3 separate regions of the Homo sapiens genome follow, and regions 2 and 3 are each linked to region 1. Evidence: promoter capture Hi-C in human tissues and cell types (Jung and others, 2019). All regions are on one chromosome and are shown on one strand. The core of a region is centred on a gene start or on the middle of the fragment in contact, and the rest is flanking DNA. Distances in the headings are between cores, read along the strand shown. Region 1 holds the start of OR2S2 (olfactory receptor family 2 subfamily S member 2). Region 2 overlaps RECK (reversion inducing cysteine rich protein with kazal motifs). Region 3 overlaps RECK (reversion inducing cysteine rich protein with kazal motifs).

What was found. Contacts are between HindIII fragments. The study calls those that stand out against the background at their distance.
Region 2: a fragment that was not itself captured here is called in contact with the fragment with the promoter of OR2S2 in region 1 in 4 of the 25 tissues and cell types used here (IMR-90 fibroblasts, dorsolateral prefrontal cortex, lymphoblastoid cells and 1 more).
Region 3: a fragment that was not itself captured here is called in contact with the fragment with the promoter of OR2S2 in region 1 in 4 of the 25 tissues and cell types used here (lymphoblastoid cells, mesenchymal stem cells, spleen and 1 more).

What each region holds. Positions count from the first base shown.
Region 1 is chr9:35,956,500-35,960,465 of GRCh38, reverse strand. It overlaps OR2S2 (olfactory receptor family 2 subfamily S member 2), which reads left to right and starts at 2,312. Exons shown (of 1, transcript NM_019897.2): 1 at 2,312-3,358. The coding sequence starts at 2,368. The coding sequence ends at 3,327. The HindIII fragment of the contact is 4,346 bases long and covers 1-3,966 here.
Region 2 is chr9:36,073,274-36,077,239 of GRCh38, reverse strand. The region is part of intron 6 of RECK (reversion inducing cysteine rich protein with kazal motifs); the gene reads right to left. Among named protein-coding and RNA genes, the nearest start is that of RECK, 38 kb to the right of the region's middle. The HindIII fragment of the contact is 8,058 bases long and covers 1-3,966 here.
Region 3 is chr9:36,048,507-36,052,472 of GRCh38, reverse strand. RECK (reversion inducing cysteine rich protein with kazal motifs) reads right to left here. Exons shown (of 21, transcript NM_021111.3): 2 at 150-208. Among named protein-coding and RNA genes, the nearest start is that of RECK, 14 kb to the right of the region's middle. The HindIII fragment of the contact is 4,812 bases long and covers 1-3,966 here.

The DNA.
Region 1 (3,966 bases), core at 1,063-3,562:
CAAATCCCACGCATCATTCATGCCCACAGGATGTTATTCATGGATAGAAACTTCTGTGTGCATAGATTTATCTTGTGGGAATGCGCAGTGTGGCTTCCCTAACAGAAATCACTTTCCTTGGCCTCTGCAACCACAGCATCTGCTTGAATCTGGTTTGTGGCACTGAATATAATGTTTGCTTTTCTTCATTTTCTGGAGTGGGTGAGAGGTGCACTAGGAGGAACAGGAGATAAGCTGGGGTGGAAGTTCAGGGTGGGGCACTCAGAGGGGGTCAGCTTGCACTGAGCAACCAGGAACACCCTTCTGTGCTGTATGAAGGGATGGGAAGAGGGGAATAGGATTGCACAGGAAATACCTTGAGACCCATGGTTGTGTAATGGGGGAAGCTTCTCCTGGGTTAGACCAATCGTTCTCTTCTGGGTATAATTTTGCACCGTCCCCCCCGCCAACCCCCCCCCCCCCGCCCCAACACACACACCTTTCCCCTGGAAGCATGTGGCAGCGTCTGGAAACATTTTGATTGTTACAACTCAGGGTAGAAGGTGCTATTGGCAACTGATTGGTGGAGGTCAGAGACTCTGCTAAACATCCTACAATGCACAGGACAGCCCTCACACCAAAGGGTTATCCAGCACAAAATGTCAATCGTAAAGAATTTGAGAAACCCTGAGTTCCATTTAGGGTGGGAGGTGCACTGCCTGACAACACATCTGACATAAACCCTCCCCCATGACTGAAGAGAGAGTGTTGGACAGACAGTGAGACTGGCCAGAGAATACACAGAGCTAATTGAGATCATAACAGTGTGTACAAGTTTGACTTTGTCCTTTTAATTTATCATTATGCTATAGCAATATTAGCACAGAGAAAATTATAAATAGGACTATAAGATCTGTCTAATATTGGAGGGACAGAATCTTTTGCAAAGCTGTGCACCAAAAGAGAAAAGCAGCTGTTTCGTGAAAGAACTCAGGACTAGGTCTTGGAATCCAACTCCAGCTCTGCCATTCAACCCCAAGGAGCAAATTTATCTTCTGAGCTCCAGTTACTTCACCTGTAAAACCTGAATGATAATATCTTCTCCATGAGCTGTTTCAAGAAATATGGCACAGCTTATATTCCTTAATATTAGTGAGAATCCCTAATATTCTCACTAATATTAATATTAACCACTCATCTTCCATCATCCACCCACTCTTATACACACTCATAGAGCCACTGTCATTAAGAAGGAGCTATCAAAATATTATCTATGAGTACTTTGAATTTAGAGTCAGGGAAATTGCAAGTAAGAGACTAGATATCCTCTATACAAAGGCATATAAGTCTTCCTATAAGCCAGCTGCTTGCATAGAACTCAAGAATGGAGTCAGAGAGTCAGAAGATAATGCAAGAATAAAATGCAAACATAAAAGGACAAAGAAAAAACATTCTTAGTCATTCACGGTTAGGAATTTCACAGACATCCTAATGAGATGGGATCAGAAGTTAATGCCATATACTCTACTATCGATAACTATAGTTAGAGTGTGGTTATTAATATTGCATTAACTAACTGGTAAGCTACACAGTGTTGTCTCATGGTGTGAGTTCAGTCACTCCAACAAATCCATTTGTTGGCTTCATAAATTTCCCAGCTATAGGACCTCCCCATATATTGCAATAAATCCATATTTCAAATAGGCAGATCTATTCCTGTCAATGCTCAAGCCTGTGTCACTAGACTGAAGAAGTAATGCTCTTTATGGCTGAATATTAACTAGGCTTGTTTCTGTGTGAATATGGTTGAACAATTTTGCGCAATTTCCTCCCCACGTGTAATCAAAGTTTAAAGAAACTTAATCACTTGCTAGGTCCAAGAATTGCATCTTCTTGGGAATTTTCCTCTCTGAGAATCTAAGAAAGCCCAGATCAAATGAAATTGCTGTGGATTTGCATTAAAGAGAAATAATTCATAGCATTTCCTAGCACTTAATCACAATGAAGAGGAAAAGCCCTCCTTGGGCCAGGGATATGCTCTGCTGGGTTCAAGTCTTGTCTCTGTCACCAACTTGCTCAGAAGATTTGGACAGGTCACTTCTCCTCCCCAGGCCTCTATCACCTTTGTGGACACTGAGAGGGTGCAGCAACTTCAGAAAAATCCCTCATGCACAACCGGACATTTGAGGCCCTCACCCACTACCTGTCCAGCTCTGACCTTCTGTCTTCTAAGACACCCCCTACTGTCTCTTTCCGTCATTTTTCTCTTGCACAGATATGTTCTTCTATTATGCAATGGGAACTTGACCACATATTAGATGCCTAGGACTCTTCCCAAAAAGCCTGATGCGCTGCTCAGTACTTTGCTGATGGCAGAGGGGATATCACATGGAAAAAGCCAATGAGACCTCCCCTGTGATGGGGTTCGTTCTCCTGAGGCTCTCTGCCCACCCAGAGCTGGAAAAGACATTCTTCGTGCTCATCCTGCTGATGTACCTCGTGATCCTGCTGGGCAATGGGGTCCTCATCCTGGTGACCATCCTTGACTCCCGCCTGCACACGCCCATGTACTTCTTCCTAGGGAACCTCTCCTTCCTGGACATCTGCTTCACTACCTCCTCAGTCCCACTGGTCCTGGACAGCTTTTTGACTCCCCAGGAAACCATCTCCTTCTCAGCCTGTGCTGTGCAGATGGCACTCTCCTTTGCCATGGCAGGAACAGAGTGCTTGCTCCTGAGCATGATGGCATTTGATCGCTATGTGGCCATCTGCAACCCCCTTAGGTACTCCGTGATCATGAGCAAGGCTGCCTACATGCCCATGGCTGCCAGCTCCTGGGCTATTGGTGGTGCTGCTTCCGTGGTACACACATCCTTGGCAATTCAGCTGCCCTTCTGTGGAGACAATGTCATCAACCACTTCACCTGTGAGATTCTGGCTGTTCTAAAGTTGGCCTGTGCTGACATTTCCATCAATGTGATCAGCATGGAGGTGACGAATGTGATCTTCCTAGGAGTCCCGGTTCTGTTCATCTCTTTCTCCTATGTCTTCATCATCACCACCATCCTGAGGATCCCCTCAGCTGAGGGGAGGAAAAAGGTCTTCTCCACCTGCTCTGCCCACCTCACCGTGGTGATCGTCTTCTACGGGACCTTATTCTTCATGTATGGGAAGCCTAAGTCTAAGGACTCCATGGGAGCAGACAAAGAGGATCTTTCAGACAAACTCATCCCCCTTTTCTATGGGGTGGTGACCCCGATGCTCAACCCCATCATCTATAGCCTGAGGAACAAGGATGTGAAGGCTGCTGTGAGGAGACTGCTGAGACCAAAAGGCTTCACTCAGTGATGGTGGAAGGGTCCTCTGTGATTGTCACCCACATGGAAGTAAGGAATCACAATCACATCAGCTGCCATTCAAAAGCCAAGTCATGTGACCTATAATGGTTTCTCACTCTAAGTCCATTTGCAGGAGATATTAAACTTTTCAGACGATATCTCCTGAGTTTTAGTCCTATGTCTGACAGCTTCAACAGACACCAGACTCAATAAATAATCAACTGTGATGAAGGCATTCTGAACATACGGTAAAACCACACGAGACAGCAGCCATGAAAGCATGACGCATGGCCCTTAGAGTGTCTCAGCTCTAGAGTTAGAACAGGGACGTGAGAATGTTCTCACAGCAACTTACCAGCCCTACTGGATTCACCAGGGAAATCAGAGAAATAAGGAGGGAGTGGAAACTTTTACTGAGGCTTCAGTTTATTACACTCAGTTTGCCTGAATGGCTAAGAAAAGGTAAGTTCTTCACTTAGGGAGCTTTTAGTTGTGAATAATCTATTTTGATGACTGAATATCTTTTTAGCTATGAGAAAATTTAGGCTATTTTTTCCTGATGCACTGCAGATCATTGAACACCACCTAGTAAATTAAATAAAATTCAAGGAGTAATGAGTTCAAATTTGACGTTCTTACAGAATTTCAC
Region 2 (3,966 bases), core at 519-3,018, 120 kb before region 1:
GGTAACTGAGGGTTCGTATTCACTCCTATGGAGCCTCTTTTGACCTGCTTACCAATACCACACCCAATGTGCCCCCATATAACTGCTCCCTCTCCCTCCCCTACTCATGTTAGTCAAGAATAGGTCAAAACTATAGGGGTGCTGAGGTGAGGATCTACCATAACCTCAAAGATGCAAAGAACATGTCAGCATACTGGAGTTGACAGGGTCTCAAGAGAACTTCAAATCCAAAAGCTGTCACTATCTAGTTGGAGAGCCAGATATGTATAAGCAAGCAAAGGGCAGAGCCAGGGCTGGAACCCAGACTGCCCTGCCAGTGCTCTTCCATGACACTGCACTGAGAATAGTCTGGGTTGTTTTTCTCAATGCAGCCAATGCAAGGTTGAATGTTTGTTCACAGAGTAATCTATTTAACCAGTCCCCTATTTTTAAAATCAGCTCCTTAAATTGTAACCAAAAAAGGTCACCATTTTCTTGAGGTTAATATTATTTTCCTTAAAAATATTTTGATCCTAAAAAAATTATTTTTGATCCTAAAATCTTTCCTCTGGTAGCTGCTCTCAATAACTAGTTCCCTGCCCTACTCTCGCGATTAAATTCCTGAATATTTGACAATTAGTACTCCCAAGCTGGTAGATGTCAGCTCCAATATATTACTAGGTGGGGGTGTGTTAGGATGGATTCAGGAAGAGGGAATTCCAGGTAGTACAAGCCCTTTGATCCACTGTTGGGAGCATATGAACTGTGGGCAAACCTGGCACAAAAACAGAGTAAATCAAAGTTGAGGGAACCCTATGTGATCCTTCATGCCACACTGGTTTTCCTTTTGGTGGGGAAGACCCTTTGGGTGCACCTGGGAAGTAGACTCTGCTGGTCCAACCTCTAGCCCAGAAGTTCGCTCTGCAATTTATTTTCTGCCACTTCAGTGACCCTTTTCTATTGATTTTTAAAATAGGAAACTGGTTAAATAGATTAATCTATGAACAAACATTCAACCTTGCTTTGGGTGCATTCAGAAGAGAGAAATCCAAATAGTCCATTGCAATACAGTGAGACCAGACTATTCTCACAACGCAGTGTCATGGAAGAGCACTGGTAGGGCAGTCCGGGTTCTAGCCCTGGCTCTGCCCTTTGCTTGCTACGTATATCTGGCTGTCCAATTTGATTTGGCTTTTGGATTTGAAAAAAATGGTTCATTCCTCCATTTGTCCACTTGTTTCAATCCTTTCTCTGTCCACTGCCCTTTTACTACTGACTACTCCAGCTCTCTCTCATTTTCATCAATGATAAAGATGATGACAACAAAACACTGATCATATGAATCTTGTAAAAAAAAATTACAGGTTTGAATTTTGGATGATTTAGTTACTTTTGGACAAAGACCCAAAAGAGCACATTTTATTAACTGTTATGTTAATGTTTTATATGCCCAGTACTTTCTACTTAACTATGCTATTACTTAAAAGTAAAGGGGCTACTTTGTTTCTAAGGCCTCAATAAATAAAAATCTGTTTCCTTTTCACAGATGGGTTGAAATTTCTTCCAGTTTAAAGTTTCACATTTCATAGAAGAAATCCAGCTTATGAAATGCTAAGTAGGAGAGGTTAAATATAACTGTTCTTTAAAAACATAAATGTTTTTAAACCTCTACAAGGTGTTTTTTCCTTGTGGATACCATGAATGTCAAAAAGTATAGATGACTAGAATATGTAAGGAGTTTAATGTCATGACTTGGAAATATCACTAAACAAGTGATTATTAAATTTCTTCAGCCTTCCAAATAATGTGTCATTTCAACAGATATGCAAATAAAAATGAACACTCAAAACAGAAATGAGCTTTATAGGTCTAGACTGCTCAGAAAAATTTGCTCATTATCACCACAGGGCACCCAACCAGCTGGAAGCAAATTCACTGGCAAGTAACATCTGCAGAGAAACACAAGGTCTAGAAGACAGCCTAGCACAGAGTATGTGCTTGTGGTGAACTGACTACAGTAATGGCCCCAATTTTTCACATTTCCTTATATCTATTTATTGTACAGTAACTCTGGCCTTAGCCATGTGACTTGCCTTGCTTTGGCCTAGTGGACACTAGCAAGCTTGGAGTAAGCAGTTGCCCGAACTACACTTGCATGTTTCCACTTTCTCTCTTGGACTCCTGCCACCACCACGTGAACATGCCTGAGCTAGTCTGCTAAAGGGAGGGGAAAACATGGAGAAGATCTGAGCTGACTTAGCCAAGGGCTTCCTAAAGCAGGCAGCCCCAGGCTGACCTGCCATCTGATTGTAGACAGATGAGTGTGCCCAGCTGGAATCAGCTAAGCCTGGCCAGAGCAGAACTGCCTAGTAAGCCCTTAGATTTGTGAGAAATAATAAATTGTTACTGTTTTAAGCTATGGAGTTTTGGGATGGTTTACTATACAACATTATTGGGATAATAGATAGTACTCAGAATGAAAACATTCTCCACAGTACAGTAGAAAATGAGCACTTTCTCCATGCATTCCAAGAGTGTAAGACATTTACACAGAGTTTCCACGTAAAGCTGATATACTGTGTTACAAAGAACCTTGAATAATTCTGTTCTCCAGAGTGGGAAAAAGTCTATAAAATTTTTCTATCTATAAAAGTACTGACTGTAGCACTTTGTTACAGGCAACAGCTTTCTGCTCATCCTTTAAGTCTTACCTGCTCTGTGAAAGACTTCCCCATTTCCCTAGGCAGGGTTTTTTCCTCCAGGCTCCAATACATTCTAGCAATGTACTTGTCTCACTGTATTGTAATGGACTATTTGGATTTCTCTCTTCCCATGGACTATGAGCTTCTTGCAGACTAAATCCTTTCATTTTTGTACCCTGAGAACAATGCCTGATACATATTAAATATATTGGTTCAGTGTGTATCAGTTCAATGAATGTTAAGTGAATGAATGACAGAGACAAAGATAATTATATGAACTCTGTCCCAGGAACTCAGGGATTAGTTTAAAAAGAGACATGTAAACATAGTTATGCTATAGAGCGACAAATGCTATAATAAAGCATGCAAAGGGCTTGGAAGTAGTGATCAATTTTATGTGTGTGGAGAGAAGATGAATGGGCAGGAAAGGCTTTAAAGTGGTACCATTTAAACCAGGATTTAAGGCAAAGGTTACTCTAGTTCAATAGAGGTAATGATGTTCTGGAACCAGCTTTTTTTGTGGGGGGTGGTTGTGGAGAAAATCTGGATTTGCAGTATTTGCTGATGTTCACGCTGCAAATACCTCCACCCATGGCTGATTTTAAGTTACAAGCTGGCTTGCAAAATCCCTGAATATTTAACAAGCAGTACTCCCTAGCTGGTAGGGAGCTGGTATTGCCAGCTCCAATATACTATACTTTTTGTTCCAAGATTCAGAAGAAGGAATTCCAGGTGGAACAAACAATTTGTACAACTACAACTAACAAATAAAACAACAGGGTCAATCTGGGAAACTATAAGTAGCATGCTGCTTAAATGTAACAGAGAGAAGAACCAGGAGCTAGACTGAGAAAAGCTTGGGATACTGGGCTGAGGAGCATGAGCTGTGTTCTACAGGGAAGCAACTGAAGGGTTTAAGGAAGGTAGTGACATGGATCAAATTTGGTCTTTAAAGAGATTAATCTAGAAGTGGATATAGTAGATAAGAGGAGAAATTAGACACAGGAAAACTAGTTTGGCAGCTATTATAGGTATCCAGAAAAGTGGCAGAAAGACCTAAGCTAAGGCAATACCTGAGGATCTGAAAGGGAGACTGATTTAAGGTACATTTAGAAGGCAACTCTTTAGGCTTGAGAGACAGTAATTTGCAGGAGGTGATGAGAAAGAGGAAAGAGTAGACAATACCTCTCAGGCATTTAAGTTGATGTGCCTGGAAGGATCATATTGGTACAACCAAACAAGAAATGCAAGAAAAATCATAAGTTTTGTTTTGGGATGGATGTGT
Region 3 (3,966 bases), core at 789-3,288, 92 kb before region 1:
TTTTAGAGACAGGGGTCTTGCTATGTTGTCCTGGCTGGTCCTGAACCCCTGGCCTTAAGCAATCCTCCCACCCTGGCCTCCCAAAGTGCTGGGATTACAGGCATGAACCACTGTGTCTGGCTGCCTCTGTAATTATTATGTAATCTTACCTGTTCACATACATCACGGCACATTTGGTTATCCTTTGAATGATTACAACACAATGCACCTAGGGAGAAAAAATAAACATCAAATGTTGTTCCACTGTTAAACAAGATGACTAAGCTAATTCAGATGGTTACACAAACCATTTATTCAGTAGATGATGATTATTATTATTATTAATTTTAACTCAACAAACCTTTACTGAGCACCTATTACAAGTCAAGGACAGTGTTAGGTTTGAGGACATGGTCCCTGTCCTCAAGAAGCTTGCAGTCTAATAGGGGAGACTGTCATGTAATAATAATAGCTACTATTTAGTGTGTGCTTTCTATGTCCCAGAATTTGACTAAGTTTGTTGTATGCATTTTCTTATCTAATCCTTACAATTACCATATGGACTAGAGCTATTTTTAAACCAATAATAAAAAGTCAACTGATAAAAAGATAGTGAATTTTGTTTTGAGCATGTGAATCTGAGGTTCCTATAGAATATCCTGATGGAAATTCCAGTAAACTCAGAAATTCAGGCCTGGAGTGCAGGTAAAGCCAAGCCTAAAGATCCAAATTTGGAACTCATCAGCATAAAGGAGTATATGGAAATGAATGATATTGTCTAGGGAGAGTTTCTAGTGAGAAGAGAACATAGCATCAGATTCTAAAGAAGAGTAACATCTGAGATATGGAAAGAAAGGAAAGAGACTGAGATGGAATAGTCAGAAAGGCAGGTTAACCGTGAGAGTGGCATCACAGGAGGAGTAGTGTCATGCACCACAAGAGTCAAGTTAGACTGAAGAATGAAAAAAGGAAATGGGTTTACTAATTAGCCACTTGGTGAGCTTCACAGGTTCTTTCTGTGGAACTGGTAGAAGTGAATGATATTAAGGAGTAAACCACAGGTGAGTAAGTACAGACATCAAAAATAGAGTCATAAGAAGTCTAGCAACGATGGGAAGGAAACAAAGTAGTAATTATACAAAGATGCAAGGTTCCAAGATTTTTTCTCCCTTTTTCAGAGTGGAAAAGACTTGACCTTCTTTACAGACAGAAAAGAGCAGTAGAGAGCTAATGTTCCTCTGACAGAACAAGTCTCAAGAGGACTCCAAAGGGGATAAAACCAAGTGTTTATGAGAAGGCACTATCCCTGGAAAGAAACAGGGAATACTTCTTCTTCCAAGATATTTATCAACTTAAAAAAATTTTATGAGCAGCTTAAGTACTAGGCACTGATCATTCATTCAAAAAAACATAAGTCTGTTCTCTTGAAACTTAAAGAGCAGATATTAAACTATATATGTATATATACACATACATATATATATATGGAGACAGAGAGAGAGAATACGAATGTGAAATGGTGGTAAATGTTATGGCAATAATAAAACAAGTTAAAGAGTAAGGAGGATGTGTGTGTGGAAGTGAGTGGGTATTTTATAGGGCAGGCTAGGAAGGCTTCACTGAAAAGGTGTCACTCAAGCAGATACCATAAAGTAAGGGAACGAGCCACAATGAATTTTCCAAAAGGCAGAAACAGCAAGTGCAAAGTTTCTGGTGTGTTCAAAGAAGAGCAAAGAGTGTGGCTAGAAAAGAATGACTGAAGGGTAGAGTAGGACATAATGCGATCAGAGAGGGGGACCAGATCATACAGGTCTCTATAGGCCATGGTAAGAACTTTGGCTTTTACTCTGAGAAGGATGGAAAACCACCCACGGGTTTTGAGCAGCATGTCATAATCAGAATAACATTTTAAAAAGACCACTCTGGTTCCTGTGTTAAAAATATAATACACAGGAGTAAGGGAGGAAACACTAATAGGCTATTGAAGTAGTCTTGATAAGAGACTGTAGTGTCTTCAACTAGGGTGGCAGCAGTGGAGATGGTATTAAGTAGTCCGAATCTGGATATATTATGAATATAAAGCTGACAGGATATGCTAATGGATTGGAAGTGAAATATGGAAGAAAAAGAATTAAGAATGACTGTAAGGTTTTTGGTCCAAGAAAGTGGGAAAACAGAAATATCTAGAAATACCATTAACTGAAATGGAAAAGACTAAGGGAGGAGATCTCAGAGAGAGAGAGATGATCAGAAATTCAGTTTTAGATATAATTTTGAGATGCCTATTATATATCTAAAATAATATACTGAGTAGGGAGTTGAATATATGAGTTCGGGAAGACTCCAAACTGGAGATGGGAATTTGGGAGACACACTATGTAGATGATATTTAAAGCCATGATGGCATCTGGGGAAGGACAAGATCTGAGAACTGAGCAATGCATTCCCTCCTTCAGAGACAGGTGAGAACGGTCAATGTATGGGAAGATAATTAAGAGAAAGAATGGTGTCCAAAAAGCCAAATAAAATGTTTCAAGAAGATGTTAACCATGTTAGATACTGCTATCAAGTAATAAGGATTTCAAACTGATCACAGTACTTGGCAATGTGGAAGATATTGATGATGACCTTAAATAAATGTTATCAATGTGAAATAAAGGGCAAAAGCCTGACTGCAGTGAGTTCAAGAGACAATTCAAGAAAATACAGACAATTCTTTTGAGGAAGTCTACTTTTGAGCAGTTGTAGAACACTGTATAATAAATAATTTGACTGGCCTTTCTCCCTGGTTCCTGGGAGGGAGACTCTAAATCACCGGAATTTCCCGAGTAATAGGAGTGTCTTTGTTATGCTAACAAGGTGACCCATGGTCTCACCTATCAAGCTTGCCCAAACGGTGGCCCATGGGCTGCATGTGGCCCAGGCCCAGCTTTGAATGTGGTTCAACACAAGTTGGTAAACTTTCTTAAAACATTACGAGATTTTTTTTTTTTTGCATTAGTGTTAGTGTATTTTACATGTGGCATAAGACAATTCTTCCAGTGTGGCCCAGGGAAGCCAAAAGATTAGACACCCCTGACCTAGATAGTTTCAGGATGGAGGCTGGCAACACCAGAAAGAACAGCCATGTGTTTAAAGAGCTGGGGCTTTTAGCCACATGGTATCAACCTGATCTCCCAACTTCCAGGGATTGAAGGGGGATTGCAGATTGATCTCAACCATATGACCAATAATTCAATCAAGTATGCCTATGTAATGAAACCCCAATCAATACTCTGGACATAGAAGCTCAGTGGAGCTTTCCTGGTTGAACACATTGATGTACTGGGAAGATGATGCACCTGATTCCATAAGAGGACATAGAAGCTCTGCATTCCCTCCTAGATCTCACCCTATGAGGCTCTTTATTTGACTGGTCCTCCTGAATTGTACCCCTTATATTAAAACCATTATTTAAAGTATAGTGCTTCCCAGAGTTCTGTGAGTTGGTCTAGCAAATTATTGAACCTGAGGGGGTCATGGGAACCGTGGATTTATAGCCAGTTGGTCAAAAGTGTGGGTGGCCTGGGGACCCTTGAACTAAAGCTAGTGTCTGGATTAAGGGCAATCTTGTTGGGGACCATGCCCTTTAACTTGCGGGGTAGATGCTGATTCTGGGTGGCAGAACTGAATTACATTATATCCAGTTGGAAGTAAAACAGAATATAGAGAAATGAGGTGGTTCCTGGAAGGGCATGTGGGTTTTAAAAGAGGCACTGTGTTTAGGAATAGGGATACAATAGTGAACAAAAGTTATGCTCTCTAACTTCACCCAGGTTACCACCTGGTAGTAGGACAAAATCTAGACAAGAGTAAAGAATTCAAGGACACCGATAAATTAACAGGGAAATTGACAGCACCTCATTTTCTCAGTGAAATAGTGATTAGATCTGAAAATAGATAGGGCTGAGATAGGGTTGGGGGCTTGAGTTGAAATTATAGAGGCCT